Regions from separate parts of the Homo sapiens genome. Here regions 1, 2, 3, 5, 6 and 7 are each linked to region 4. The links are contacts of gene promoters, found by promoter capture Hi-C in blood cells and fetal thymus (Javierre and others, 2016). All regions are on one chromosome and are shown on one strand. Each heading gives the region's core, a stretch centred on a gene start or on the middle of the fragment in contact. The rest is flanking DNA. Distances are from core to core; before and after follow the strand shown.

Region 1 (3,071 bases), core at 438-2,937, 360 kb after region 4:
CGTGCATTTTTGTTCCTCACTTGTTGGTGGCACTGTATGTCTTTCTGCCTTGCTTACCTTTTTTTTTTTTTTTTTTTGATACAGGGTCTCGACCTGTTCCCTGTTGCCCAGGCTGGAGTGCAGTGGTGCAATCATGACTCACTGCAACCTTTGCTTCCCAGGCTCAAGCCATCTTCCTGCCTCAGCCTCCCAAATAGCTAGGACCATAGGCACATGCCACCATGCCCAGCTAATTAAATTTTTTTTTTTTTTATAGAGACGAGATCTATGTTGCCCAGGCTGGTCTTGCACTATTGGCTTCAAGCCATCTTCCCACTTCAGCCTTCCAAAGTGCTGGGATTACAGGTGTGATGCAGGAGGTAATGGTTGTCTTGGCAGCAAAAACTAAGAAAAGTTGCATTGACTTTGAAGAGCCTGTCAGTACTGATGAAATGCAAAGTCTTTGTCGCCTCCTTTCTAATCTTGTTTGATTTGGAGAACATGCGTATGAAGGCTGAAAGAAGATTTCCAGATATAAATGGCAGGATAGATAACATTAGAGCCAGAACTGCCATGTAAATGTCAATTAGAAACAAGATTTAAGTCTCTGGACCACCCTTCTTACCCCCTGTGGCCTGTTGGTCACACTGCCCCTTCCTCGTGTTTCTGTAGCCAGGCACAGGCTAACGAGGACTCAGAGAGTGCCTGCTATGATAATTTTAGCCCCTGGAAAAAATAACAGACTTTGTGAGATTTAATGGCCACACCTGGGCCTTGTCATCACTTAGTATTCTTTCACCTTTTTGATTGTCAATTCTGATATTTCCCTCTGTGACCACAACCTCCTTGCTTTACTCCTTTCAGATTCCCTCCTATCTGTTGAACCTATTCTTCATCCTAATTGTGATTCCCTGATTTTGAACATTCTTCCTTTTCAGTCCATCAGGCCATTCTCACTTTACTTGGCTCTGAATCCAGGGTAGACTCTGGTGGTCAGCATTTCAGCAGTGAGCTTGTTAACAACCTGGGACCCTCTGTCATATTTCTTTGCCAGACCTCACATTGTATTACATTTCAGTAATTCACACCAATCGTAGTTTGTAAGCCTGAACTTTATTATCTTGCTGGGGAAAATCTCAAAGTCTGCCCATCTGAGATTCCAGCAAAGTCCTGGCATCTTTACCGCAGCTCAGCTCTCCTTTGTGTTCCTTTTGTGATGGTTTCCTATTATATTTCTTCTGATGCTTATTCTAAACCTTTGTCAGGATCTTTAGCATCTGAACTCCTTTCTACTATTTTACTGAGACAATAGAGACCAAAGAAACCTCAAGCTTTTGCCTCAAAACTTTTTAATATTTTTACTCCTTTTCTCTGTCTAACCTGAAAAAAAGTAAGGGCTCTATCTTTGGCTCTTTTTCCTCTCTATGTGTATTCTTTCCCCAAGTGACCCCAGGCAACCTGTGGCTTTAAATACTCTGTGTGTGCTGATGACTCTCTAGTGAGTATCTCCAGCTTGGACCTCCCCACTGAGCTCCAGACTTAAACATCCAGCTGCCTACTCCACTGCACTTCCACTTGGTGTCTGATAGGGACCTCACATTTAAAATGACCAGAAGACAACTCTTGCTTTCCTTGGTACAGATTTGCTTCCCTCTAATTACTTTGCTGTCTCAGTAAGTGGCATCACCCTGTATGCCAGATGCTCAAGCCAGAAGCCTAGATCATTCTTGATTGCTCTCTTCTTCATTCCCCACATTCAAAAAGTCAGTTTGTCTTTTCATTCATACACAAGTTAAGTCCTGAATCTGACTACTCCTGAGAGTCACCACCACTGTCAACCAAGGCCGGTGTTCATCAGCTTTTGCTTGGTCTACAGAAACTTCCCCCATGCTGGTGTCCTTGCTTCCAAATTGGCCCCATATAATCTGTCTTTCCCACAGCAGTCAGACTGAAATTTCTACAAAGAAAGTAGGCTCTATCGTTTTCTCGTTGATGTGCTTCCCATTTCAACCAGAATCCAGGGCCCCTGCCCCCTCATTCATTGTGATCAGTCACAGTGATCTTTTTTTTCTGTACTTTAAACACCCAAGCTTGCTCCATCACAGTGCTTTTATATTTGCTGTTCTGTGTCTGGAGCAGTTTTGCCCCAGAGCTTCAATCACTGTCTCTTCGTCATTCTGGTCTAAACTCAGACATGACCCTCTCAGAGAGGCCTTTCCTGACCACACTTCATATTGTCATATTTTAACTGAATAGCATTTGTCAGTGGGTCTACTTCATCACTGTCTCTTTCCTAGAACACAGTTTTCTTGCAGGCAGGGACTGGTGGCCATGTGTCCCCAGTGCCTAGAAGGTGCTTTGGGGGACTGACTGGCTGACTTTGCAGGATGAACCCCCTGCTTGCTGCTTCAGTGCCTTTTTCATGGTTGTGCCTTCTCTTCCCTACATCTTTGTTCCTTCTCTCCTGGCTCTTACTTTCCAGATCCCATACCCGTCATTGAAAATGCGCTTTCCTGGAGGTTGCCAGTGATTACTTAGCCATCAGTTCATTTCTCTTTTCTCAGCACCCACCTTCCTTGACTTTTCTGCATGTTTGACATTGTTGTTCATTTTTTTCAAACAAAGGCATATAGTAGGAGTCTGCTTTAGATATTGTGCAGGATGCAGATATGGGTAGGAAACAGCTCCTGCTTTAAAGGAGCTTGCAGTCTGCCAGGAGCAAGTAGATGAGTAATGTTCATAAAGAAACAGTAAGTGTTACTTCAAACCCTTTCTTGAAATTCTTGCATCCCTTGGCTGCTAGGGCATAAGCCTTTCCTGGTTTTCTTCCTAACTGGTTACTATTTCTTTTTTCTGTGCTGACTCTTTTTCTTCTGCTCATGCCTTAAACATAGGACTTTGCTGTGGTTTTGTCCCATTCCCTCTTTTCTATACAGTAATCTGTCTCCCGATGGTGTCATCGACTCCCACGTCTTCACTGCTGGGCAGATTTCCTTTTTACCCCCCACTCCCTCCGTGCATGTGACTCCACATTGATGTTAGGCTCAAATATCTTCTAGGGGTTTCCATTCCAACTGTCCGGTGGACATTTC
Region 2 (2,970 bases), core at 370-2,869, 440 kb before region 4:
ATGGCTAACAAAGGAAAATTGGCTAAATTAAATTATGCTATCTCTGCCTACTGGACTACTATGCAGCCTTTAAAAAGAACAGGCATATGCCCATGCATACATACAGAGCTATGAAAAATGCATGTGCTAAATAGTTAAGTGAAAAACCAAACTGCTAAACAATATGAGATTCCATCTGTGTGAAAATAAAAGGATGTATTCATACATACATTTGTTTGTCTAGACAGAATAGTTCTGAAAATTTCCATAATGGTAATAGTTTATGTTTAATAGATTTTTTTACTAAGTAGAATAAGTTTCATGGGTTATTTAATTTAATCCTCATAACCACACAATACAGTAAGAATTCTTTTCCTACCTGTTTTAGAGATGAGGAAACTGAGACTTAGAGAGATTAAGTCACTTCTGAAGTTCACACACCTCATAAGCAGAGCCAGCTGCAGGGCAGGGTGTGGGCCGGCAGGGTGTGGGCCGGCAGGCTGGCTGCAGCATCGGCTCACCTCTTATGCTGTGCGACATTATTCATGGTGAAAGTGCAAAGCAGAGATTCAGAATGGGCAAGGTTTATGAGGCGCTTTTAGTAAATAATGCTAAAGTGCCAGTTGTCATGTTCCTGTCTGGGCAGCTCTGATGAGATGCAGACAAGCCCTTTATCCCACCCTGGCCAGGGAATGTTTCCCTTTTGAACAGCCTAACACAATTAATGTGCTTCCATTTTCTTCTCTGTGCAAGGAAATGCAAAATAATAGATTCCAATCTATTTCAAGAATTGGGATGAGCAAATAAGGATGAATAGATCCTGATCTATTCAAGACTGCTTATCTTTATCTGCAATGAAGGCAAACAAACAAAAACTGTACCTTTTGAAAGAAGAAGGAGCAAATTGGAAATGAGGAAATTATAGTATGTGAGCTGGAAAACTACTAGATGCGTTAGTTTTCTCTTCTTCTCTTTGCCTGGTTGGAAAACGAGGCAATGGAGACTTCTTTCAAATCACTCAATCCTCTGAAACAGTGGCTGTGACGTGCTTTGATGTATTTTGTGGTTACAGGGGTTTCTGATGATAGATACCTCTGAGGCTCGGCTGGCTGAATGGATGGTAAAAACAAATACCATCTAAGAGACTGAGGCTCAGATAAAAGAAAGGTGAAGCCAAATTTCACCAAAGGCATATGCATAAATAAGGAGGCTGATGCTGTCCCTAACCAGTGTCAGAATATCTAGGTGAAGAGGGAAAAAAAATGGCATTAGCCTTCCCTATGTTTGCATTACTCTGAAAACCAACATTTAGATATTTGGGTGGAATGGAGAAGGATATAGAAAAATAGTTAGGTTTCATTTTTACAGTAGCAAATACAGAAGTTCCCCAACTTGCCATGGCTCAACATATGATTTTTTTACTTTACAAGGGTGCGAAAGTGATACATGTTTAGTAGAACCCATACTTCGAGTACCCATACAACCATTCAATGAATTCCATGAGATATTCAACACTTTATTATAAAATAGGCTTTGTGTTAGATGATTTTGCCCAACTGTAAGTTAATGTAAGTGTTCTGAGCACTTTTAAGGTAGGGTAGGCTAAGCTATGATGTTTGGTAGGTTCGGTGTATTAATACATTTTCAACTTAGAATATTTTCAGCTTCATCAGGATGTGACCTCATCGTAAGTCAAGGAGCATCTATACTACACTTTTTCTTTTTATTCTATGGCTTTTACTTTCAGTTGATCCTCCTGAAAAGAATCTATTAATTTAAAAGAAAAGGTACCCCAAATGCCTTGGGGTTGGGGGAGAAAGAAAAACTCACCAGCAATGAGACTTCTTAGTAATGTTCCGATGCTGGCTAGCTGACTAACCATCTGGTTTTGATGTCAAAACCTTGACGTGCTACAGGCATTGTGATCCTTCACGTGCTACAGACATTGTGAAAGTTGCCACACCAGTTGCAAGGTGCTGGTCAGAGCAACTGCTCACAAATTTCTTGTTTGAACGCTTGTAATGTGCAAACCTTTCTCTTCTCCTTATCCATTTGGTCATTTCCCACCAGGTAAGGTCAGCCTGCTAGGAAACCGCTCTGCAGTTTGGGTTGCTGTGGAAACATCTGCATATCAGGTGGAACTGGAGCTGGTCCCCGCAGTGGAGATCCCCACCACCTGGTCCAAGAAAGCCCGGTGGCCTCGATGTCTGCAGCGCTGGCCTTCCCAAGAGAGAGTGGAGTGCATCAAGGTATCAGTGGGCGGGACCCAGCTTGCCAGAGCAGTGATGCCAACAGCTTAACCAGTCACAGCATTACTGACTGCCAATGAGTTTCCGAAGGAAAGTTGAGGTGTTACTAGATCAGCAGTTCTCAAAGTGTGGGCCCTGCAGCAGCGTCACCTGAGAACTTGTTAGAAATGCAGCTTCCCGAGCCCCCACTCTGGACCTGCTGAATGAGACCCTGTGAACAGGGCCCAGCAATCTGTGTTTTAAGAAGCCCTCTGGGTGATGTGATTCTGATGTATGCTCAAGTTGGAGAACTGCTGTAGGAGAGGAAGTGGGCACCATCTTCTAACTGTCCACATCCAAGGTGGCTTGTGGTCTCCCTGGCACCCCCTTCTCATCCCCACGTAGGATGTGCTGTCTGCCTGGTGACAAGTTCCCCAGACCAGCAGACTGCTTCAGAAATGGCTTTCTACACCAGTGAGCATTGTTCTTCTTATTTCCCAATATTTTTCTCTTTCTTCCAGTCGTTTGGATTTAACTTGTTGGCCTGTTCAAATTATCACTGGCAGCTGAGCTTCCTCCGTGCTGAGCAGGTGTTACTGGAACAGCTGGATGAAGATGGGGGCTGCCGTAGGAAGTGTTTTCAGGTCATGAGGCACCTGAAGGAGGACATCTGGTGCCCAGGGAACAGGCCGGTTATCACGTCCCACCATCTGCAGGTGAGTGTGGGGCAGGTTGGAGAAGACCCAGGGGCAGCTTTGGATAG
Region 3 (3,184 bases), core at 421-2,920, 440 kb after region 4:
GTGGATGATATGTACTTGAAAAAACCCAGAGAGAATATATTTATAGTAAGATGCTTAAGCTTATGGCCCCAGTGCATAGCCATTTGAGTTGATCTCTGCCAGTCATGCCTTCTACCTGAAAAATACCTTTGAAATCTCCACACTATTTCTTTCACTTTTCTCAGAAAGTAGTATGTCTTAGACTGTTTGGCGTGTTGTAGCAAAAGTACCATAAACTGGGGCGGGTGGGGGAGGGGGGCTTATAAACAACAGAAATTTAGTTTTGGAGGCTGGGAAGTCTAAGATCAAGGCACTGGCAGTTTGGTGTCAGTGAGGGCCTGTTCCTCATAGCACCTTCTAACTGTGTCCTCACGTGGCAGAAGGGGCTAGCGAGCTTCCTGGACTCTTTTACAAGGGCATTAATCCCATTCATGAGAGCACAGCCCTCATGACCTAATTGCTTCCTAAATGCCCCATCTCCTAATACCATCACCTTGGAAATTAGGTTTCTGCGTGTGAGTTTTAGGAAGACACAGACGTTGAGACTATAACACAGCACCCTCCCTGTCATCCCTCTACTAGGACATTACTTCATTCATCCTCCTTGCTGGCTTCACCCATTCTCCATCCCACCCCTTCCTACCGCTCCTCACCTAGCTACTCTTTCTAGCTGCCATCCTAATCTTCATTTTTCCTTCTCCATGAAACTCCTGGAAGTAGGTTCCACTTCCTGCAGTCACTTCTTACCCTGAAAACTGCTGCTTCCACTCTATTGAAATCCCTTTTACAAAGATCTTCATGGACATCCTCCTCATCGAGCTAACAGGAGTCTCCTCTGCCTTCAGAGTCCCCAACCTCTTGGCAGCCTTTGGCAGTGCTGACAAGCCCTTTCCTCTTAGAATGTTCTTCCCTTGATTTCCAGCCGCTGTGTCCTAGTTGCCCTCCATCTAACTCTTCCCTCTGTAAGTTTTGTTCCTTATCCCATCCCCTAAAGAGAGAAATTCCCTAGTAATCTCTCCTTAGTCCTCTTCCTTCTGTTCCCCAATACTTCCCAACACTTGTATGTAACTGACCTAATCTACATCTAACAGTTCAGAACTCTCCCTAGTTACAAACAGACATTTACAGGAGCCAACAAGAAACAATGGGGACAGCCATGGATTTGGCATTTGCAGATCTATTAATATGTTCAAGTCTGGCTCAAATCCTAGGAGTTTTTACATAACTAAATATGGGAATATCACAGGGTTTTTGAAAGGATTCGATTACAAATATTTTCAAAGGGTTAAAGTCTATTTAACCCTTTGAAAATATGTATAATTTATATGTAAATATAAATATCTATATTTAAATATTTCAAAATGTTTGCTGGATATCCTTCCTGTCTATTCCATGGTCTTCAAATTTAGTATTTCTAAAATTAAATGCATTATATTTTCACTCACCCTTATACACACAACAGTAACTCTTCCTAATATCTGTATTTCTAGTCAGAGTATCAATATTCTCCCAGGCAGCCTTATCAAACCTATGATCTTTGATTTCTTCCTACCTCTCATCTCGCCATTTAACCCTGCTACTCCCAAGCATCCAACGCACTGAAAACTACAGATTTTGTCTCCACAGTAGCTCAGTTATAGTACCTTTACTTTTATCCCTATTGCTTTTGTCACCTCTGTCCTGAGCTCCTACAATTACCTGATTGTCTATTTCTAACTTCCATCATTCTGCACACAAACTGTGAGGTTCATTTTCCTAAAACCTCCTAAACACTTTCAGTGGATTCCCCATTGCCAATGAATCAAGTCCAAACTTTTAAATGTGATAGTCAAGTCCTTTCTGCTCTGGACCCAAAAATTGCTGTCCAGTTTTACCTCTTTCTATTAATCTTTATGCAGCCCTCCCCCATCCAGTTGATTACTCTTTAATTTTGAGTAAGTCTTTTGATTCCTACTCAGAGTCTTGCCATGAAATCTCCTTCACCTAAAATGCTCTGTCTCCCCACTTACCTTGTCATAATCTTCCCAATTCTCCAAAATCCATTTCTAATGCCATCTCTTATGCCATCTCCATAAACCTATTTCCCTCCCCTCAAAATGTAGTCCCTCTTCAAAATTTTTGAAGCACTTTTATTATATGTTTTCCATAGAGAGGTGACTACTATCCACTTGATTGGATTATGAAATCCAGAAGTCAGAATCTAGCCTAAATTCATCTTCATATCTTAGTCCCTCAAGCATGAGAAATACTATAAGTGGTTGAATAAATATTTATTGAATTGGCAAATAAAGCAGTAGAAAAAGAAGTGCGTGTTTTCACAATAAAAATTTTCAAACGTGGTACCCATCTTGCTGAAAAGTGATGGGAAACGTTCGAGAAGTGTTGCCTAGCCACCAAAAATAACATTGTTTGTAGAAACATGCCTTGATATATGTGGGTTAGTGGTACCTCAAAAGCCACATTAAGAAAATATTTTTATTGTGAAATACAACATAAGAAAATTTTTATTATTTGTTTAAAATAATTTTAAAATAAATTTAAAATTTGTTAAACAAATTTTCAGTTTAACAAATAAGCACAAAGTAAAATCTGTATAATGTCTACCCAGGTCAAGAAATAGAATATCGCCAAGACCCTAGAAGCACCCACCCAGCCCGCAGTGTGCCCCATCAGATCACAAACACCATGCAATCACTTTCCTGACTTTCATGATAACCACTTCCTAGTTTGCTTTTTTTTTTTTCTTTTTGAGATGGAGTTGCCCGGGCTGGAGTACAGTGACGCAATCTCGGCTCACTGCAACCTCTGCCTCCTGAGTTCAAGCGATTTTCTTGCCTCAGCCTCTGGAATAGCTAGGATTACAGGCACCTTGCCACCATGCCTGGCTAATTTTGTATTTTTAGTAGAGACAGGGTTTCACCATGTTGGCCAGGCTGGTCTTAAACTCCTGCCCTCAAGTGATCTGCCCACCTTGGCCTCCCAAAGAGCTAGGATTACAGGCATGAGCCACCTCGCCTGGTCATTTCCTGCCTTTTTGCTAATGATTTCAGCCCTTTATGTGTGCATCACTAAATAATACAGTGTGGTTTCACCTGTTTTTAAACTTTATAAACAGTACGATCATTCTGTATATAGTCACAAGGATTCAGAAGTGTTTTTGTATCTTGCTTTGAACATAGTCATTCATGTTATTGCAAATAGTTGT
Region 4 (3,344 bases), core at 765-3,264:
TGAATGAATACATGAATTAGGTGAGAGAGATCACCAGGAAGGGACAGTTCAAATAATCTGTTGGAGGTGGAGCTTGGGCAAACTGGGTTTGCAGTGGAAGGGAGAACACAGGTACAGGCAGCAGTGACCCAAGGTGCCAGGGAATGAGGGACCAGCTTGCCTGGAGGAGAGTTACCCCATCCATTCAATTAATCCCTGTTTGTATCTCTTCTTTTCCCCAGCCACCCGCACATGAACTCCCCAGAGCTATTTGGGCCCTGTGATGGTAGTCCACCCTGGCCTTCTGGCCTCCCTGCCTCCAATTCCTCCTGACTGCAGCCTTCCTCTTTGTTGCTAACAGATTCTTCTTCCCAGGCGCATGGTCCTGATCCTGTAAGGCCCAGGAGAAGCTCTCTCAGCTCAGAGAATCCAGACTCCCTAAGGGGACACTCAGCAATCTTTTCCCACATTATCACATGTCCACACATCACCAGTCCTTGAAGGCTGGGCTCAAATATCCTCCCTCCCATGAAGACTGCTTCACAAAAGACACTTGATTTCACAAAAGAGACTGCCTTCTTCTTCCCTCTGTACCCTCACAGCTCACCTTTTTTTTTTTTTTTTTTTTTTGAGACAGGTCATATTCTGTCACCCAGGCTGGAGTTCAGTGGCACAATCACAGCTCACTGCATCCTCTGCCTCCGGGACTCAGGTGATTCTCCCACCTCAGCCTTCCGAGTAGCTGGGACTATAGGTATGCGCCACCACGCTCAGCTAATTTTTGTATTTTTTGTAGAGCCGATCTTTCACCGTGTTGGCCCTGCTGGTCTCCGATTCCTGGCCTCAAGTGATCCACCTGCCTCAGCCTCCCAAAGTGCTAGGATGACAGGTGTAAGCCACCACGCCCAGCCCAGGCCTCTTACAACACTGACTTATCTGATCGTGCGGGTACTTTTGAGTCTATCTCAACCCCTCCCCCTTGGCTGTCTTCCATAGATGCACACGCGCACCTCCCGGGCAGGCAGCGGACGCTGAGCAAACGGACGGACGGGCTGGAGGGCTGGCAGTGGGGTGCAGGAGCCAGCCATGAGAACCCCTCAAGTACAGTTGAACTCGCTGGGAGGTTACTGCTGTACTCCCGGGGTTTTGCTATGGCCTGACTGGGGCCAATGTGTGGAGGGTGAAGGAGGATGGGGAGGCAAAATGGGAAGAAGGGGACCTATTTCCTGAGGTTGTTGTGACGACTTGGCTGACAACACACGGAGAGGATGGAACCAGTTCTGATACTAGTTTTTAGGATTTGAGGGGAGGAAAAAGGAGCAGGAGTCGCACCACTTAGGAATCCCAACGTGAGGCCGCTGCCGACTGGGCTTCCTAGTTGCCTACCCGCTCCTCGCTGTGGGGCGATTCTGAAAAGTCCTCTCTGCTGATACGGCGGACGCCGCGCGGGCGGGGACGGCACCGCGCGGGGAGGGCAGCAGGCGTCGCCCTCGAGCAGGTGGCATCCGCGCCCGCTCCCCGTCCCGGGCGCGTTCACGGCTGGGAAAAATTTTGCAGTCCGCTGAAGCGCTCAGCGACGTTACTGGGGAAGCCCAGGAAGGAACTTGGTCACTGGAGCTCGGGAGGGGGCCGGCGGGGGGGCGCAGGCCCCGCAGGAGAGGCTAGCGGGCCGGAGCCCGTCCTTCCCTAAGGCCACACAGTTCCTTGCTGACTCCATGAGGGACACTGGCGATGAAATAACAACTTTCTCTTCCTGAAAAGGCTCCCACGGCTGAGTTGTTCCCGGCCCACAGCGACCCGTCCCCACCCGTCTCTGATCGGCAACCGCCTCGAGCCCGGCGCGTCCACCCAGCCTGGGTGCTGCCCAGTACCCGCCGGCCGGCGCGGGGCCCCTGGGGCAGGCTTCACTCACCAAAGCAGTGCAGCAGGCAGACCACGCTGAGGACCCCCAGGGCCCGCCCCGCGTCGCTCCCAGCAACCATGGCTCGTCGGGCCGGCCTCTGCGCGAGTGCCCAGCCACAAGCAGCCCTAAGTTCAAGCACCGCCTACGCGGTCGGCCAGAAGTAGGGCTCCGCCCCGCCCTGGGCTGGCAGCCGGCGGCCCGCCCCGGCCCTTCCTCCCCCACCCTCCGCGGCGCCGCGTTTGTCTTCGCGCTTCCACTCCCCGGGCGCGCCTCTGGCCTCGGCTCTGCGCGCCTCCTTCCTGTGTCCCCGGGGCGCCGTCCAGTCCCCCAGCTCGGTCCCTCCCGTCATTCCGCCGCCATTCCATACGCTATTTTTAAGTAAGAAATTCTTTCCTTGAAAATGGCTTGGTTTTAAAAACCAAGGTTTTAAAGTAAGAAATTCTTTCCTTGAAAATGGCTTGGTTTTAAAAACCAGGTTTCTCTGCCTTCCTACCGCACCTCCCGCGCTTCCCCTTAGCGTTTGGGGCGTGCTGTAGGCCCCTCCGTGGCTAGACGGGGCTGTGGCTCCCAGAGAGCCACCGGAGGAGGCAGCAGGACGGGCGGGAGCACCCGGGGCCCCTCATCCCTTCAGCGCTGTGTGATCCCGCATCAGACGGCCTCTTTGAACCACTTTTCCTCAAACATGACAAGGAAAGGGAGCATTTTAGACAACTGTTAGGCGTAGGGTTACCTGAGGCAGGCCTCCCCCGTCCCCATACTCCCTTATCCCCGGAGCTGGGATTTCCAGCCTTTGGTTTCTCCCTTCTCAGATTCCTCTTTTTCTGTCTTCCCCCATCTCAACCGGGACTTTCCCTCAGGCTGAGATGTCAGATCCACATCTCCCTCACTGCCCAGCCTCCCCACATCCATCCAGCCCAAGCTGAGGCAGGCACTCATCACTCTCCCCGCTCTTCATCAGTCTGGATTGAGCTGGCCCTCCCCTCACATCCCTATATCCCAGAACAAATGACCCTATTCCCAGAACCAGCTCCTCACATCAGCCTCCCTGTCTGTCCCCTTTCTTGCAGACAGAAGCACCAGAGTTGCCCCTGCCCAGCTGAGGGAGTTCACAGAACTCTTAGTTATTATGTGAGCAGGAATCCATTTCCATGAACAGGACTCCCTGCTGCCCAAATAACCACCAACACATACATGGTGCAGGTTGTGAAACTGAGTGGGAATGTGCTTTCTTGCTGCTTCACCTCCATTATCCCCAGGTGGGGACTCGAAGTCACTCAAGACACTTGAACCATATTGCAAAGAGACATGAATTATTTCTTAAGTTAGCCATAAAATCTTAAAAGGTATCTCTATCAGTGAAACTTCTGGGACCAATGCCCTCTACCACAAACCTGCTATCTCGAGATATTCCCTACCATCTGTAGATACTGGGAACACAAGGCAGGGGCAGTGTGTAACATAA
Region 5 (3,186 bases), core at 458-2,957, 330 kb after region 4:
AACAGGTGTCTGCCTCACACTCACCAAGTGCTTTTTCATCATGGCATCAAGGATCATGGAAACGTTACACCAGCCACTCTTTTCTGGAGCAATGTTGACCCATGTCTGGGCAAATAAGAAAGGTTTCGTATGAGTATGTCTGTTCAAATAAATCCTAACTTTCTCACTGGGAAGGAATGACTAGTTCCCACGACTCACAGGACACCACCCCCCACCCCAATATCAAAAATTTCACCTTTTTTTTTAATACTAGCACACAGTGAGAAGTGGTACGCTTCTGTTTTTCTCGGTTTTCATCATAAGCTTTGGCTGTCCCTGGCATTCTGTATGCCACACATGTGCCAAACGCTGCAGCACAAGGATGGGCTAGGGGCAGGAAGGCAGCACAGGAAAGGGGCAGGTCTGGGAGAGGACTTTTGTTAGGTCAGTGCAAAAGTAAGTGTGGTTTTTGCAATTAAAAATAATGGCAATCAACCTAACACAATTTATTGAGATGGTAGTACATGCCAGACTTCATTTTTAAATTACAAATGAAAATGCTACTATCCCTATAGCTGCCATGTTAGATGAACAGGTTGGAGGAAGAGAATGCAAAATGAGTTCATTCTGATTCAAAGTTCTTGGTACATTACCTGAAAATGTGTTTACAGTGGGTGAATATCTTCCCCTAGAAAAGAAAGCCTCACTCAAGCCATTCACTTCTTTAATCAGAGCTCAGGAGCTTTCCAAGCTATTTTATTTTAAGCAATTTCCTGGTGAAAATCTAGCACAAACCTCCATTTGAAGTGCTAATAATTCACATTGTAACTCCAGTCGGCTCCCTTGTCTGCATTTGATGTACTTTGTGAAGTCATTTTAATATTCCATAATCACTTTAATATACTGTGTGATATTGGAGAAGTTACTTAGGTTCTCTGAGCCTCAGATGCTTCATCTGTAAAATGAGGGGGTTGGGTTAGATCAGTGGTTTTGGATGACTTTTTCCTCAAACAAAATTTTATGTGGCACTCCAATATATAAAAGAGATCAAAGCAGAAGTATTCTAAGTATAGCTGAAGCATTTATTAAGCAGACCTACTATGTTTCGAACGTTGTGCTAGGTGCCTGGGAAACAAAGCTGAGGGGAACACAGCCTCTACTTTCATTCTAGTAGAGGAAACAGACACATAAACTAGGACAGATACACAACCCTGAAACAAGCATCAGATGCAGAACTGGTGACATGGACACGGTGGAGACAGCAGCTAGGGAAACAGGGAGAACTCTTGGGGGAGTAATGAGTAGCTGTATCCCTCGGCCCCTCCTGGGGTTTCCATGCAGCCATGTGGACAGTTCAGAGTATGCTGGAGTGGCCCGCCTCACACATATCTGTCTCTCCACTTGTTTGCTTCAGGGCTCTAGACTCAGACAGGTACAGACGGGAGACAAGGAGGAGTGAATGCCGTAGGGGCCAAGCTCAGCTGTTGAGGCAGGAGAATCAGGGAGTAAATACCTGAGCCTCTTGTCCCCTGAGGGACAGTTCAAAGGCACATTCTACACAGTTTGTTCACAGCTGTGCTTACCTCAATAACACATATTTATTGACTTTCTCTTGTTCCCTGACTTGCTCTCCCATTCCCTCAACACTGCTTTTTGAGATAACTTCCCAGATAAAGAACTCACAGCCAAATCAGTGTCTCACGCTTTGCTTTCAAGGGAACCCAACCTACAGGAGTAGCCATGTGACATGTGAAACGCATTTCTGAGGGAGGGGACAGCAGGAGATGGCAGAGTACACAGGAGCCATAAGCGGCTTGGTGCCGGCTGGACCATACCACCTGAGCTGTTGACTGCATAGAATCGGGCACACTCCCATTCATCTGCCCTGGACACGCAGGCCACTCCAGCCTTCAACCACTGTGTGCTTAGAGAAAGCAAATGAACCCTAATATTTGCTAACTCAGTGCAGACAGATGAGCAGTGCAGTTTTCTAGGGTTAGGAGAGTCAACTATCTGCTGCTCTTGGAAACAACATCCTTTCAGGAGCTCCTGTGACTCTAGTGGATGGCAGTGCCCTTTCTCATCACACTCCGCCTTGAGTTCTAGGGCGGCTGACACAGCCTCATCACATTCCAGTCTTTCCCTGGAAGCAGAGCTCATTGTGATTATTACCTCATTGCATTTAATCGGCAAATGAGGAGTTAGAATTTAAAATGTCTGTTGAAGGGCAGGAGGAGTGGACTAGAATTTTACAGTAAGAAGGAGTTGCTGCATTGTGCAACTGCATGAACATAATAAAAGAAATGAAAATGAAAAAACAGTAAATGAGGGAAAGGGAAAATAATGATGGCAAGGTAAGGAGGAGTTAGAAGGTTATGCAAAACTAGAGTTATGCAAAACTAGGAGCTAGAAGGTTATGCTAGAGGTTATGCAAAACTCATGCTATAAGTCCTCTTCAAGGCTTGGCACTGTGGCTCATGCCTGTAATCACAACACTTTGGGAGGCTGAGGCAGGAGAATTGCTTGAAGCCCAAGTTCAAGACCAGCCTGGGCAATACAGGGAGACCCTGTCTCTACAAAAAAATTTTTTTAAAAATTAACTGAGCATGGTGGTGCATGTCTGTAGTCTTAGCTACTTGGGAGGCTAAGGTGGGAAGATCACTTGAGCCCAGGAGGTTGAGGCTGCAGTGAGCTGTGATCGTACTACTGCACTCCAGTCCAACTTGGGTGACAGTACAAGACTCTGTCTCAAAAAAAAAAAAAAGTTTTATTCATTTGCTAGAGGGAGGTCATAGAATTGAACATAACCTTCCCAATCACTACCATGAAAAGGAAAATACTATCAGTTACAATATTTACAGATTCCATACGAAAAAAGAAACTAGTCACTAAGGAAAAGCACAACTATTTGTGGTTCTGAGATGAGAGTAAAATTCCTCCATGCATCCTAAGCAGAGGCTGCTGCCTGATTTAACGAAGAGCATCTGTAAACCTGTCCTTCTGGGAAACAAAATGACAAAGTGCACAAAGCTGTTTCTTAGGACATCCCTCAATATAGGCTGATGGTATCATGACAAAATGCAATTCAGTAAAAGCAACTTTATGAGGGTGCCAATATGGTATATCCAGGTACTAAGCTTACTGATGTTCTACTTAATTCATAACTTAGGGGTAGATCTTTGGGTGTCTAGAAAAATGTACAGACTG
Region 6 (3,356 bases), core at 630-3,129, 470 kb after region 4:
AACGGTTCCGGCCAGAGCACAGCATGGGAAGTGTGAGTTCCCAGTGGGTACCTGCTGCATGTCAGGCCCTGTGCTAGGAGCAAGGGGCCCTGTGGTGACTCAGACACAGCCCCATGCCCCTGGGATGCTCACCTTGTTTGTCCTGGATGCTCTGCTTTCATTAATGGGACTTAGAGCACCTTTGATAGTCTAAGCAGCCACATGGCACTCTTTGTCCCATAGGCAACTAAAATCCTCCAAAACTAAAACACCCCCACAGTATTTTCTTCTTTTTAAATTTACAGAATAAAATTTGCCCTGATCCAGTTCAGCAGACATTTTATGTGAAACCTCTTCTCTCTCCAATTACATACTGTTTACCTTTGGTTTTTGAAACTTAGTGGAGAGCTTTACTTTTACTTATTGATTTCAGCTTTTCCATTTCATGCCACCACCTGGTTTTACTTTTGGCTTTTTGTGTTATAAATCTTCCTTGGCAAAAGGACAAGCCTCTGTCTCAGGAGTTGACCAACCAGGGCCTATGGGCCAAATGCAGCCCACCATCTGTTTGTTTTTTAAAATACAATATACTGGAATATGGTCACTCCCATTCGCTTACATACTGTCTGTGGCTGCTTTCACGATAAAAATGGCAAAGTTGTGTAGTTGCCACAGAGACCATAGGACCTACATTGCCTAAAATGTTTATTATTCTGGCCCTTTACAGAAAACATTTGCCAGCCCTGCTGTCCTTTAATGTTCTGTCTCTCTTAGCCATGTATTATGTCCCTGGGAAACTGATTTGACCTCTTATATCTGAATCTCTTCTATATCTGATTAATCTAATAAATAATCTTAGGTTTTCAGGATTGGCATCTAGTCCCAGCCATTCTGAAGTTTGACTCCGCTGTACCGGCCTCACACTATAGATGGGAAGTTTATCACCCTGCAACGTTTCACGCCATCATACTGAGTACCTACTCTGTGCAAGATAAGATGACACAGGGATGATTAAGGCATGGTTGCTGTTAATTATTTTTATTGTATTGAGATGTATAGAAAAAACCGATTTATGGCAGAAGATGAATGCAATGGTATAAAGTCATGTGCCATAATAATTTCTTACAATCGTACAGGATTTTTTTCATTATCTCAGAATTTTACAGCATCTCTATACAAAAGGAATTGTTATTCCTGTCCTACAGGTAAGGAATTATAGCTCAGAGAGGTTGGGATTTATCCAGGATCACCCAGCCATATGCAGAAGAGTAAAAGCTCAAACTTAGGTCTGCTGACAAGTCCTGGACTCTTTCCACAATAAACACTCTTTCCACAATAAACACAAAAAATATGCTCAAATCCATTGCTATGGGGGAAAATCTGGATATAATAATAGCCACTTTGAGTGGTTGTTATGGTGATCAAATCAGATACATCAATGGAGATAAGTTTTAAAACCACATCAAGTCATAAATGAATGTCAGCATTAACCCAAGTTTTTCTAGGACTTAACCTGTCCGTGTACATAAATAAAATGTAATCAATAGTAATAATCCAAATTCTACAGGCTTTCCCTCCCAGAATATTTACACAGGGTCTTGGCCATCTACAGTGTCCTTTAGCTATTTCTGGGGGATTTCCCAAAACTGGAAATTTTTTTTTAAAGAGATGAGGTCTCACTAGATTGCTCAAGCTGGCATTGAGCTCCTGAGCTCAAGTAATCCTCCTGCAAGAGCCTCCCAAGTAGCTGGGTCTACAAGTACACACCACCACATCTGGCCCGGATTCTGTGAATTCACATGAGCTCACAAGCAAGTCCATTCCCATGTGGTTCCCTGCAGCTCCGTTGGGCTCTGCGGGCTCCCACCGCAGCTGGCATGCCAGAGCACATGAGATGCCAAGCTGAGTCGTGTTCAGTGATAAGCAGTGAAAAGGGACTCTTTCTCTGTCTTTACATTACACTCTTCTGTAAGGATACAAATTCAAGATTGTTTGCACCCGTGTCTCTAAAGATTCTCTTGTGAAAACTGTTCCATTAGCATTTGCCCAGTATCTCCTTTCTCCAGAGTCCAGACACCAGCAAGTCTGCGGCCAGGCTGGGAAAGACTTCATGCTATTCTCTCCATTTCCCATTGCCTGTTCCCAGCAGCCTCTGCACTAACCTCCTCATCACAGGTCCTCTTTTCCTCCAGCAGGAAGGTTATGCAATTGTGCTGTTGGGGAGCTCTACCACTTGGCAGACAGAGCCTGAGAAGTCTGCATTCCCTGTAGGCTCAGGTGGGAATTCTGTCAAACTGGCTATTAATTTTTACTCCTAATAAAGTGCTACAGGCATTTAGAAATCAGAGACAACTTCATAAAGAAGATGTAAGTTGAACTGGGCTTTAAAAATAAGAAAATATTTTGACAGGAAAAGGGTTAAGCAGAGGTCTGGACAGAGGAAGCCCCATGAAAAGTGCAGTGCTTACAATAGCTTTGGGTTAAGTGTCAGATCTATGAAGGGGAGCAATGGGAGATAAATCTGGAAAAGTAGTTAGAGCAAAATTCTGGGGTTGGGGAAGGACAGAAGAACAGATCTTGAACATGGATAATATCTTGGACTTCATGTGGTGGACAATAGTGAGCCAGTGAATGTAATGTAGTAGGGAAGGAGAATTGAAAAGCAACAGCATAGATGATAGGTGGGGTTGGAGTGAGGATGGCAGTGGTACAAAGGTGAGGCAGGGAAGCCAGCTGGAAAACCATCTTCACTCTCTTAATTTGTGTAATGGCTATCACACCAATTTTGTGAGCATTTTGAGTATAGAAAAAAATTATCAGAAAGTTTCAAGTATCAAGCTCATAGAGGTAGCTCCTGTATATTAAACACAATGACACATGATGAGACTCTTCTTGTGTCTAATAAATGCTCGTTAACCTAGTTTTCTACTGATAAGTTTAGAGATAAGAGACAGTTCCATCCATTCATTATATTAACTGGCTTTCCATTTTTTAAAAAATTTATTCACCTTTACATTTAATTTACTTGTTAGAAATTTGGAGTTTCTACCATATTGTCTCTTAATCCAAGGCTCCTTCTGAACCAGCTCTGACTGCCAAATAGAGATGTTTTGAGTTGAAGCATAATTATCACATTAAGCCATTTACCGAGACGAGAGACTATATTGGATGAGGACAGTGATTAAGAAGTTTCTATGGTATAAATAACCAGCATAGGAAAATCCAAATTTATTACTCCTATAAGGTCACATTGTCAAGGGAACCGAGAGGGTGTGTGCTTCCATTTTAAACTGGCTTTTCAACAATAGGATTCTTGGTGGACTTATCTCACCCTAGTCCCTTTCTGGGTACCTTGTGCTCCAGCCACACCAAATTAC
Region 7 (3,176 bases), core at 514-3,013, 380 kb after region 4:
CTCTTTACTCTGCACTTACACCACAGCACAGAGCCTGGATTTGGAAAAGTGGGTGGTGGAAAAGCAGGTCTGAGGTTCTTGAGTGACTATGGCCATTGAGGAGAGGAGCTGCTCATTACTGGTCAGTCTGGGCTCCACTGGCTGCAGAAATCGCTTTCCAGATGGACTTAGGTTACCTTCCTGATCAGAAGTGATCGCTCTGCAATCTGCCCTAAGAAACCTCTAGATATTAAACTTGCATCAAACAACTCTTAAGAGTTTCAGCTGTGTAGAAAGTTTACGCTTTTTTGGAAGAATTTGAATTGTAAAGACATTTTTTGTTTCAAACACACCATGAGACCTATAATATCTAGCTAAGAGACTTGAACACTGAACTTATTAGGCAGGTAATATCTGGCTCTCAGATGAGACAGGGTTCATAATCTTTTTGTGCCATGAGACTTTTCGACAGCCTTTTGAAACCTACAGACCTTTTCTCAGAATTAACATGTTTTAATTCATAAAATACAGTACACAAGATGACAAAGGAAAATAATTATATAGAAATCGTTATCAAAATACTTGTAAAGCAAATTGATTTTGTAGTAATATGCTGCTTTATTAATGCATTGATAATAAGATAGTGGCAGGCTTAACAACTGTACTTTCTGAATAGTAATGAGTATACATGATATTTCAGGATATCTGCAGCAACTGTAATGTGATTTCTATTTGGGGTAGTTCCAGACACAGGTAATACTACACTGGTTTGTTGCTTACTTTCACAGTGGGAGGAGATGCTATATTTCAGGTACAGATTAATAAAAATAAAGATGGAGTTTTTTTCCCATCCAAGTTCACAGACTCTAAATTCTCTTTGTGGATCCCAGGCTAAGAACTGTCACACTAGGCTGATGGTCCTTCTCTTCTTGTCCACACCTGCACTATCCATAGCTGGCTGCTTATATATTCTTATCACATTGTTATGATAAATGGCGCAGAGTGAAGCTGTGCTACCCATGTGGCAGGGAGCCTCCTCCCCAGCCCCTCCTCCCTGTCATGGGAGTGGTCTGGTTGCTGCAAACTTTGTCTGATTTATGGATTTAGTTATATTCAGGGACAGAGAACCTGCCCCACCACAGGCTTTGCCTGAGGTCCCTTCTTTCATTACAAATACTTAGAACTGGTCCTTTTTTTCCCTTTAGCCTACTCCATCCTGTCTCTCAGCAGTAAACTCCCAAATCCAGAATGTGTGGGACCTCTGGTTAGTGATGTGACAAGATACTGAGCCACTTGCACAGAGAAAATTACAAAGTGAACTACACAGCTGAAGAGACATCCCTGCCAATATTTTCTGAACCTGAGACTCTGTTTTCTCCATCCATACAGTCCACAGCTGCTTGTTAAGTACTTCGTCACTGACCCGACTCCCTCCTGAGTCGTCTTTTACTTCCAGTAGCTGAAGTCCTGGCAGAGGTGACTCCAGCAGGATTCCAGGGTTTCTGGCCACAAGCTTTGACTGTAGAATGGTTCAAACTGCAGAGCCTGGCTCAGGGCAGCAGTTTCCATACTTAGTCCTCACAAATGATACCCTCAGGCTACTTTTGGCCCTTTTAAAGAGATGATCGAGAGAAAGAATTAGGAGACTAGGTGGAAGGAGAAATTGAACTTTTAAATTGCCTTTTCTAATACTGTGCCCACCTTATTTTCTGTCTTCTGTCTAGCTGGATCTTGAACTTGACTTGAAATATTTGTTTGAAATATTGTCAGGCTTTGGACATATTCATATGAAAGTAATTTACGCCAAGGAGCACGGGCTTTGGAGTTGGTCTTTTCTGAATTGGGTCCCTGAGCTTACTGGGGCCAGCGCCATGCCGTTGATGCCAGCGACTTGCTAGAAGGCCAGGGCTGTGCCTCTGCTTGAATCCCCTGGGAAGTGCTTGGTACTTGTCATCTAAGTAATTGTTCCCGGACATTTCACAAGTTGATGTTTTTCTACTCAGATTACAGATGCTCTTTTAAAATCTTCTGAATAGAATAAAATGTTTCCATGTGAAAGCTTTGACAGGGGAATGCTGGAACTAGATCTGCCTTGAGTCTGTGACACCAAATACTTCAGTGCTTCATCTAAATATAGTCTACTTTTAATTATCCACACTAATGAGAAAGGACAGTAGTGCAGATAATCCAAAAATCATCGTGTTTTAGTTTTAGAATATGTTTTATGATTGGCTTTTATGTGGGAATGTCTAAGAAATAAATTATACTCTCAGTACATTACATTTTGAAGACTTGACTCAAGGAAAATTGTCTGGTTTCACTTTCCTGGCCCTTCTGTTTAGGATTTTTCCCTTTTATCCCTTAGACAGTTTCACCCTCACTTCTGCTGCCTTATTGCCTAGCCCCCAGCTAACAATATGTACCAGTCAGAAGCAAGTCTTCCTTTTCTGTAAAATCACCCAAGTTTCATCATGCACATGGAGAATGTATAATTTTAGTTTTACAGTCTTCAATAGACTGCTTATCAAAAGATAGCATAACAGTGAAGAGCAGAGTTTCTAAAGGCAGATAGCCTGGATTTGGATTCCATCTCTGCCACCTATCAGCTGTGTGACCTTGGGCAAGTTACTTAACTTCTCTGTGCTTCAATTTCCTCATCAGTAAAATTAGGCCTCTTAGGGTTGTTTTGAGGATTATTATATGTAAAGCACTCAGAACACTGCCTGGCATATATAGCAGATATATGTAAATGTTTGCGGCTATTGTTGTTTTTATAAAATAAGAAGAAATGTGGTATGTTCTGTTAATTTATTCATTAAATATTTCTCAAGCACTTACAACTGTACAAAGCCTTCTAACTTTAATGCTGTAAATAAGAACTTAAAAGGAGATGCTTTAAAGAGGGTGGAGAATAGAAGGGGCAAACATAATCAGATTACCTAGATGTATTTGTTTTTAATTTTCAAGTTCTGCGAGCAGCTGTGCCCAAGAATGTGTCTGTGGCTGAAGGAAAGGAACTGGACCTGACCTGTAACATCACAACAGACCGAGCCGATGACGTCCGGCCCGAGGTGACGTGGTCCTTCAGCAGGATGCCTGACAGCACCCTACCTGGCTCCCGCGTGTTGGCGCGGCTTGACCGTGATTCCCTGGTGCACAGCTCGCCTCATGTTGCTTTGAGTCATGTGGATGCACGC

Evidence for each region. Contacts are between HindIII fragments. The CHiCAGO score rates a contact against its expected background, and 5 or more counts as called.
Region 1: a contact is called between a fragment that was not itself captured here and the fragment with the promoter of CD58 in region 4, in 1 of 17 cell types (M0 macrophages). The highest score is 6.8, in M0 macrophages.
Region 2: a fragment that was not itself captured here is called in contact with the fragment with the promoter of CD58 in region 4 in 6 of 17 cell types (neutrophils, naive CD8 T cells, total CD8 T cells and 3 more); the score reaches 10.0 in neutrophils.
Region 3: a fragment that was not itself captured here is called in contact with the fragment with the promoter of CD58 in region 4 in 5 of 17 cell types (M2 macrophages, monocytes, M1 macrophages and 2 more); the score reaches 9.7 in M2 macrophages.
Region 5: a contact is called between a fragment that was not itself captured here and the fragment with the promoter of CD58 in region 4, in 1 of 17 cell types (M2 macrophages). The highest score is 6.5, in M2 macrophages.
Region 6: a contact is called between a fragment that was not itself captured here and the fragment with the promoter of CD58 in region 4, in 2 of 17 cell types (erythroblasts and M1 macrophages). The highest score is 5.6, in erythroblasts.
Region 7: a contact is called between a fragment that was not itself captured here and the fragment with the promoter of CD58 in region 4, in 2 of 17 cell types (M1 macrophages and M0 macrophages). The highest score is 6.3, in M1 macrophages.

Annotation. Positions count from the first base shown.
Region 1 is chr1:116,927,468-116,930,538 of GRCh38, forward strand. All of the region lies in intron 1 of PTGFRN (prostaglandin F2 receptor inhibitor), which reads left to right. Among named protein-coding and RNA genes, the nearest start is that of PTGFRN, 19 kb to the left of the region's middle. The HindIII fragment of the contact is 759 bases long and covers 1,309-2,067 here.
Region 2 is chr1:116,125,417-116,128,386 of GRCh38, forward strand. MAB21L3 (mab-21 like 3) reads left to right here. Exons shown (of 8, transcript NM_152367.3): 6 at 2,050-2,228; 7 at 2,729-2,923. Among named protein-coding and RNA genes, the nearest start is that of MAB21L3, 16 kb to the left of the region's middle. The HindIII fragment of the contact is 7,397 bases long and covers 1-2,970 here.
Region 3 is chr1:117,004,648-117,007,831 of GRCh38, forward strand. The region is part of intron 1 of CD101 (CD101 molecule); the gene reads left to right. Among named protein-coding and RNA genes, the nearest start is that of CD101, 4.5 kb to the left of the region's middle. The HindIII fragment of the contact is 3,226 bases long and covers 58-3,184 here.
Region 4 is chr1:116,569,012-116,572,355 of GRCh38, forward strand. It overlaps CD58 (CD58 molecule), which reads right to left and starts at 2,015. Exons shown (of 6, transcript NM_001779.3): 1 at 1,892-2,015. The coding sequence starts at 1,961. LOC124904385 (a long non-coding RNA gene) reads left to right here and starts at 1,964. Exons shown (of 2, transcript XR_007066497.1): 1 at 1,964-2,042. RefSeq lists an enhancer at 1,087-1,146 and silencers at 1,617-1,686, 1,757-2,216. The HindIII fragment of the contact is 6,609 bases long and covers 1-3,344 here.
Region 5 is chr1:116,900,804-116,903,989 of GRCh38, forward strand. No RefSeq gene overlaps it. Among named protein-coding and RNA genes, the nearest start is that of PTGFRN, 7.5 kb to the right of the region's middle. The HindIII fragment of the contact is 2,813 bases long and covers 302-3,114 here.
Region 6 is chr1:117,036,634-117,039,989 of GRCh38, forward strand. The region is part of intron 2 of CD101-AS1 (CD101 antisense RNA 1); the gene reads right to left. Among named protein-coding and RNA genes, the nearest start is that of CD101-AS1, 21 kb to the right of the region's middle. The HindIII fragment of the contact is 4,956 bases long and covers 1-3,356 here.
Region 7 is chr1:116,946,246-116,949,421 of GRCh38, forward strand. PTGFRN (prostaglandin F2 receptor inhibitor) reads left to right here. Exons shown (of 9, transcript NM_020440.4): 4 at 2,947-3,176. Among named protein-coding and RNA genes, the nearest start is that of PTGFRN, 38 kb to the left of the region's middle. RefSeq lists a silencer at 988-1,188. The HindIII fragment of the contact is 546 bases long and covers 1,491-2,036 here.